Regions from separate parts of the Homo sapiens genome. Here region 1 is linked to region 2. The links are contacts of gene promoters, found by promoter capture Hi-C in blood cells and fetal thymus (Javierre and others, 2016). All regions are on one chromosome and are shown on one strand. The core of a region is centred on a gene start or on the middle of the fragment in contact, and the rest is flanking DNA. Distances in the headings are between cores, read along the strand shown.

Region 1 (3,982 bases), core at 1,385-3,884, 1.3 Mb before region 2:
ATTTCATACAGGTCTTATAATCTGCCACAAATTTCATTGGCAATTGTTTCATAATCTTTTAACTTCTGGCTGCAAGTGGAAATGCTTGTCTTAAATTCTGTTACTGATAAGTAATGTCAGCCAGCTAGTGGAGAGATTAATATATTCTAATATCTACATAACAGTTAAGAATTCCAAAAATTAGTACCGTTTATGGATTCAACAATTCTCACATTAGCTCTGTTTGTACCTTATAAATCAATGGCTTGAAAAGCTGCATTAACAAAAGTTAAATTCTATTTAAACATACATTTTCTAAGTATTTAACGTGACAAATATAGGAAACATTTAAATAACTATCAAATGTAATCATTAATATTTCTGACATCATGTCACCTTGGACTCCCAAAATTTAAGTATTTCTTTCTGAAGACTATTATTTTTAGTAATTCATATGTAACCTGAAAGTCCAACATTATAATAGCCCCTGCTTGCAAGATAGCAAGATCTCAGGTCCCCTCTCCTTGAAATTCCCTTCAGCAAGAAACACAGCATTCATATTCCCTTGTCAGTACCTGACTTTTCATCTTTCTTAAGTCTGGATTGCAATCCTCCTTCTATCCATGGAACTCTGCTCATTGCTCAGCTGCCGACATTTATGCAATTACTAGATCATCTCAGAGCTGCTGCTGCTGTTGCCACTTCTTCCACACTAGCCTCTATAGCAGCAGTTCTCAGTTTAGTTGTACATGAGAATCACCTGTAGTGTTTTCAAAACTGCTGCTACTCATGCAAACACCAGAACAATTAAATCAAATTTTCTGGAGAACTTAAGCAAAGTTATTGCTCTCTTCTCTCCTTTACAAGCATGGATACAGATTTTAATTAACTCTTTTCATCATAGTCCATACTACATTCTGCATCTAAACTTTACTGAAGACAGAAATAAGAGATGGGAAATACAACATTAAAAAAAAATTAAGGCATTTTATATAGCAGCCGTCTGAATCCATGCTTCCTGAATTAGTCTCATTGGGCTTTTACAGGCTCCCTGATTATTATTATGGGACTTTTGCAGTTTGCTTCCCTGTGTAGCTGCAAGCCTGCTTCCTTGTGGCAGAAAATTACTTCCCAGCACTGTTGCAAGTGCATATGAGAATACCTACAGTAGACTCAAGACAACATTACAAAGAAAGGAGTTCCTTCTTTAACCAACCCGAGGCCTGCCTTTCCATCCTCATTTTCTGTTCCAGAAAACTGGCAGTGGGAAAAATTTATCTCCTTCAGGGGCAAGTACACTTGGCACCCATGGAAGTCAGTCCTGTGACCCCAACAATCATAGCAGACAATCTCATCACAGCTGCATCAGCTTCATCTCAAGCAATATTCACAGAAAAGGAAAATTTTTTTTCTTTACATCTCACTTCCATGCACAGTAAAAAAAAAAAAAAAAAAAAAAAAAGACAATGGTTTTCATTTTTAACATTTCTCCATTATATATAGTGTATTTATACTCCAATGGATGTTGAGCATCTACAAACCAGCTTAGTTCTCTTTTATGGTCTTTCCTCTGCTTGCATTTCATCTGTTGCAGTTTTGTTTTTGTTTTTGTTTTCGTCTGAACTCCTGACTTCGCTAACCAACGACTCTAATATAAACAAATAAAAATAAGCACATTTCCACCCACATCTACACACACACACACACACACACACACACACACACACACACAGTGGAAGCATGTTGCAATTTAAATACAATACTGAAGGACTATCTGATTTCAAAACATACTGCAAAGCTACAATCAAAACAGTGTGGTACTGGCATAAAAACAGACATGTAGACCAATGAAACAGAATAGAGAGCCCAGAAATAAATTCACACATTTATGGTCAATTAACTTTTGACAAAAATGCCAAGAACGCACTATGATGTAATGACAGTCTCTTCAATAAATGGTGTTGTAAAAATTAAATATCCACATGCAGAAGAATAAAATTGGACCTGTATCTCAAATCATATTCAAAAACCAACTCAAAGTCGAATAAAAACTGAAATATATGATCAGAAACTCTAAAACTTCTAGAAGAAAACATAGGAAAAAAGCTTCATGACATTGATCTGGGCAATGATTTTTTTGATATAATCACAAAAGCAAGACAACAAAAGCAAAAATGGAATAGAATTACACCAAACTAAGAAGCTTCTCTATATAGCAAAGGAAACAATCAACTGAGTAAAGAGAAAATCTACAGAATGGGAGAAAATATTTGCAAACCACACATCTGGTAAGTGATTAATATTCAAAATATGTAAGAGATTCAACTCAATAGCAAGAAAGCGAATAATCTGATTTTAAAATGGACAAAGGACCTGAATAGACATTTCTCAAAAGAAGATATACAAATGGACAACAGGTATGTGAACAAATGCTCATTACTAATCAGGAAAGTGCTAATGAAACCCACAATGAGATATCACCTCACAACTATTAGAATGGCCATTATCAAAAAGATAAAAAGACAAGTGTTGGCAAAGATGTGGAGAAAAGAGAACCCTTGCACACAGTTGGTATAAATGAAATGTAACCTAGTATAGCCGTTATGGAAAACAGTTGAGAGATTCCTCAGAAAATTAAAAATGGAACCATTATATTATTATATGATCCAGCAATCCCATTTCTTGATCTATGTCTAAATGAAGTGAAATCAGTATGTTCAAGAGAGATCTGTGCTTCCATGTTAGTTGCAGCATTATTCGCAATAGCTAAGACATGGAATCAACCTGTGTGTCCATTAACGAATGAATGGATTTTAAAATGTGGTATATATACACAGTAGATGATATGGTTTGGATATTTGTCTCCTCCAAATCTCATGTTGAAATGTGATCCCCAATGTTGGAGGTGGGACCCAGTGGGAGATATTTGGGTCAAGGGGGCAGATTCCCTCATGAACGTCTTGGTACCCTCCACCCAGTAATGAGCTCATTCAAGAGCTGGTTGTTTAAAAGAATATGATATCTCTCTTGCTCCTGTCTGTCTTGCTCCCTCTTTTGCCATGAGATGCCTGCTCCCCTTTTGCCTTCCACCATGATAATAAGCTTCCTGAGGACCTCACCAGAGGCACATGCTGGTGCCATGCTTCGTGTACAGCCTGCAGAACTATGAGCCAAATAAACCTCTTTTCTTTATAAATTATTCAGTCTCAGGTATTCTTTTATAGTAATGCAAAACAGAATAACAAGGCAGAATACTATTCAGCCATTAAAAAATGAAGAAATCCTAATATTTGTAATGACATGTATGAACCTGGAGGACATTATTTTAAGTGAAATAAGCCAGGCACTGAAGACAAAAACTTATATATATAATGTAAAAGTCAAACTTATAGAAGCAGAGGGTAGAATGATTGTCCACAGGGGCTAGGGCAGTGTCTGGGATTGAGAAGATCAAAATTTTAGTTAGACAAAGGGAATAAGTTCAAGAGATCTATTGTACAGCATGGCAACTATAGTTAATAATAATGTATTGTGTGATTGAAAATTGCCAAAAGAGTATATTTGGTGTTCTCACCACAAAAAATAATGATAAGTATGTGAGGTAATACATATTAATTAGCTTGATTTAGCCTTCCACAATGTATACAGGTTTTAAAACATCATGTTGTGCACAGTAAATGTGTACAATCTTTGTTAATTAAAAAATAAATAAATAACATTTTTAAAATTAAAAACTACAAACATAGGGAAGAAATCTCTCTCCAAAGGAAACAGCTATGCAGAGAAGCAACTCTGCCTGCAATATAAAGACAAATTTTTGCATTATCCCAAAGAGTTATTTAAACCTTAACCGAGTTTATTTGCCATTTTTCAAACTTTTTTCTCATTACGTTTTGTTCTACATTTGCATACACAAGTGACTTTCTGATAAGAAAGAACATTCCACAGCAAATATGCATCCATATCAGAGCCTCTTGCAGGAGACAGATGATTTGCAGCTTTG
Region 2 (4,115 bases), core at 1,551-4,050:
TGGGAGGCCAGCCACCTTGCAGGGAAAAGCATCCTGCAGTGCTCAGCCACAGTGACCATTCTGACCTCTCAGCACAGCAGGAACTCAGGCCCCTTGTACTCTTCAGAACCGCTGTACATCTTACCTCTCAAGCTGCCATTTGTAACTATTTCCACCCTCCCTTCCCATCTTCTTTAATCTCCACAGTCCCCTTCCTCATTATCTCACCCAGGGTCTCCATGTTACCTGGTTCCCTGTACTTCTTTCTGTCAAACTATGCTCCTTTACGACTCACTCCTTCCCTAGCTGCATAAATGGCTCTGCCTCCCTAAGCCTTCCTTGGTGGCTCCTCCCCACCTGATCCCTCCCTTCCATGATTCCTTTTTATTCTGAGCAATTGAGTGCATTCATCTATTTGTATTAGTTTACCTGTTCCAACTTCTTCACGCACAAATCCCTGAATCTGCCATGCCTTTCTCACTCATGATGTTTGTTCCCTCTGCTTGAAATGTCCTCCTCCTTGCCTCCCTTCTAAACTCTGCCTTATCTTTCCACACACAGCAGAAATGTCATCCTGACCCTAAGGCTTGCTTCCATCACCTCAAAGACAGATTAAATCTAATAGGACTTTGTTCACCTTTATTAAATTATGGTTTTTTGCTTAGGTCATAGCAACAGCTAGTACTTAGTACTCATGTGTCACACACCTGAGAACTTTATATATGGTAACTCATTAAATCTTCACACCACCCTATGCTATTATCTCCAATTTAACCTGCCCAAGTTCATAGCTAGTCAGTGGAGCAACTAGGATATGAACCCACATAGCATGGCTCTAATCAGATACTACACCACCTCTCCACCCAGCAAACTCCACCTGCAGATCAGGTAGCCTTTGTTCCAGAACTGCACTCAGATCTCTTGGTCCCAAATATCTGGCACACAGCAGGAGTCACTAAATGTGTTCTGAATTTAACTGAAATTTGTTTAGCATCCATTCCCATGATTTCCTCAGACGTATGTTCTGTCTCCCCAAGCTGTCCATGAGATCAAGGGGAAAGAACTAGCTCATTTGTTTTCTTCGCAGGCACACAATCACAATGCAAGATGAGAGGTGGGGAACACCCTGTGAGCTCTAGGGGTGCAGCTGGTGGAAAACTAATTTTGGATTTAAATGTGTCTTGTGTGTGCAACTGACAACGTCTTTTTCACATGCCTGATCTCGACAAGTGTTATCAACAGTTGAGGTAGGTGGAAGGATGTGAGGAAGATAAGAAAACTAGGTGCAGATTGTTTGAGACCTGGCCAAGACCTCAGAGCTAGAAATATCTGAATGAGATTACAACCCACAGGCTCTGAATAAAGCACCTGAAAGCCAGCCTCCTGTCCACTGGTGTGGTCCTGGGCAGCTGTGGCCGTCAGGAAAGGGAGAGCGTTGGGTCAGTTCTTCCCCCAGCAGCCTGGGCAGGGGTGGGAGGCTGGTGAGAGGGCAAAGGGGAGTCTGGCAGGGTGTTCTAGAGAGGAGGCCAACTGAGGAGAGGTATTAAGAGCAGGCCAGCAGGTTCGGAAGACTCTGAGGGCTTCTCAAGTGTTTGGTCACCTTTACCAGACGGGACAGAACACCATGAGAGGTGACACGATTTCCTAGTGGTATGATAATATAGATATGAGGAGTCAGGAAAAACTGGCTTATCTTTCCATCAGTTGGAGGTAGTCAATGTTTCCCTATCATTTTTAACTACCCCATTGCGTTTCTAAAAATCTGTATCTTTATTTCATTGTTCTAATTCAACACAACCGCAGATCGAATTTACTCAACGCCGTGGTAGAGGAAGGATTTTCAGGCTAGGATGAGCTCTGCAGAAGAGAAGCTTTACTTAGTAGAAAAGGCAGTGAATTTCTAGACAGAGACCTGCCCCATCTTACTAACTGGGTAGTCTTCCATATGTCTCTTCACCCCCTGGGTTTATCTCCTCTTCTGTAAAATGGGGATGAAAATGCCCACCTACCCACCTCCAAATGAGTGCTATGGCAATAAGTTGCACGAAGGCCTGTGAGCGCCCAGCCTAGGCTTTCTGCGGATCTGAACGGTCTCCAGGGTCTCTGTATCAAGCTCTTCACCATTCAGGAATGAAACACTGCGGATGTCTGCTCAGAAATGCAGGGAGAACCTCCTCCCACAGGGGACCTCCCGCCCTGCAGCTCATGAAGTGAAGGCTCGCAGATCGCCAGGCTCTTATTGTAGCTCGACAGGGGCGAGGCAGGCTAACTCCGGGGACGCAACAGGGTGGACCTGGAACCCGGGTTTCTTGGCCCAAGGCACCGAAGGCGTAGGGATTGCTGTTCCCGGCCCGCCCCTCGCGGTAGCTGCAACTGGGGGCATGTCCAGCGGCACGGTCTCCGGCGCCCGCAGCCCGGCTCGGGAACCACTTCGCTTACCTGCGGCTCCACCAGCCATCGCTGCTCGGCGCCGCCGGGCGCAGGGCGCGGGGCGCGGAACGCGGAGTACACGGGGATGCGGTCCCGGGTGCTGTAGAGGGTGGCGAAGCGCTCAGCACCCTCCGCGCGCTGACAGATCTTCACGTGGGAATCGGCCGCCAGCCCCGCAGGCGGGGTCCCGGCGTAGAAGAACTTGTCACATTCGCCAAAGCCGGCTTCCTCCTCGCCCACGAGCCGGCCTTCCAGCAGCCCAGCCAGGGCGAAGAGGCTGCCCAGCGCGAGCCAGCGCGCGGTGCCCATGGCGGCCTCTGCGAGCGCGGCGGGGCCGAGCGGCTGGGCTGCCGCGGCGCGAGCTCTGCAGGCTGGGCGGGGAGCGCACTACGCAGCCGAGCAGGGTAGGGAAGGGAAGTCGCAACCTAGGCGCGGCGCTCTGCGGAGCCGGGCGGGGCGGCCCGGGCGGCGGGGGCGGGTCCGCGTCGGGAGGCCGCGCCTCCCTCCCTGAAGATGGCTGCAGAGGCCCAGGGCCGCGCTCCGCGATGCTGACAACGTACCCTGGGCTGCGCCCGGGACTGGAGACGCGGGTCACCTGCCTCCGCGCCGCCTGGTCTCAGCAGTCCGGGGGACGCGCGCTACCAAGAGTGGAGAATCCGAGTGGGGCGGGCCTAGTCCCGGGGCTGGGAAGAGATAGTCGCATGGACTGGGCGCCAAGAAGCCTGCTGATCGCGCGCGCCCCACGGCCGCCCTGGTGATGCAGAGGGGTGGCGTGAGATGCTCGTGGAGCTGCGGCTGGTTCGGAGTGGATGGGCAGAGTTCCCCTCTGAAATTTCATGAAGATGCGTCTCCCACTCTCCACCGAAGTACTCAACGACCAGCACACGCATACAATTTTGATGGAGTTTTTTGTTTTTTGTTATGTTTTTTTAGCTCACCAGAAACTCAGAGAGTAAAGAAATACTGTTAAAGGAAGTTCCTAAACTAGGCAGACAGTATAACCCTGTGTGGTTTTCTTGGTGCAAGTGTTAGAAACAAAACCGATACCAAGCAAGGAAGGAGGCCAGCCAACGTCATTGGTCAACAGGTTGGCCAATTCTTTCCTTCATTTATCCCTCTGAATGCCTAGGTGCCAGCCTGAGATAGGCACTGGATTACCACAGGGGTAAACAAGAGCAGGGCTCCTGCGGTCACAAAGACAGCCTAGTGGGAAAGTTTGTCATTAACCGAGGAAACATGCTATTAAAGGGATAACTAAAAACTGAACACAGATCTGTGAGACCCTGACAGCTACAGGGGTTCAGGATGTAATCCGGGAAGGTTTGCCTGAAGAAGTGGCATCTGAGCTGAGACCTGGAGGATGACATTAACTAGGCAAGGAGGAAAACCATGTGCTAAGTGGTCTCCCACAGAAGGGAACATGATGTATTGGAGGAATTTAAGGAAGGCTAGTGTGGGTAAAGCGCGGAGAACCGCGTGGGGGATGATGGGAAGTGGGGCTAAAGGAGGAGGCAGGGGTCATATTACTCAGGTTATTATAGGCCAGAGGCCTTCAAACACTTTTTGAGAAGGCCCATAATGAGAAAAGTTTGATGAAATAATTCTTATGCTTATGATTGGCATTGCAATTTCATATTTCTGTTCTACTTCACTTTTTTAAAAAAGTGCTGGTGTTGACCCACTAAATTGTTTCTATGAGCCACTAA

Evidence for each region. The method cuts DNA at HindIII sites, captures the fragments that hold promoters and counts their contacts. A CHiCAGO score of 5 or more calls a contact.
Region 1: a fragment that was not itself captured here is called in contact with the fragment with the promoter of ENDOD1 in region 2 in 1 of 17 cell types (activated CD4 T cells); the score reaches 6.0 in activated CD4 T cells.

The regions. Positions count from the first base shown.
Region 1 is chr11:96,434,196-96,438,177 of GRCh38, reverse strand. No RefSeq gene overlaps it. Among named protein-coding and RNA genes, the nearest start is that of JRKL, 46 kb to the right of the region's middle. The HindIII fragment of the contact is 899 bases long and covers 2,185-3,083 here.
Region 2 is chr11:95,088,531-95,092,645 of GRCh38, reverse strand. It overlaps ENDOD1 (endonuclease domain containing 1), which reads right to left and starts at 2,800. Exons shown (of 2, transcript NM_015036.3): 1 at 2,419-2,800. The coding sequence starts at 2,718. RefSeq lists a silencer at 2,549-2,978 and enhancers at 2,989-3,048, 3,119-3,398. The HindIII fragment of the contact is 8,670 bases long and covers 1,853-4,115 here.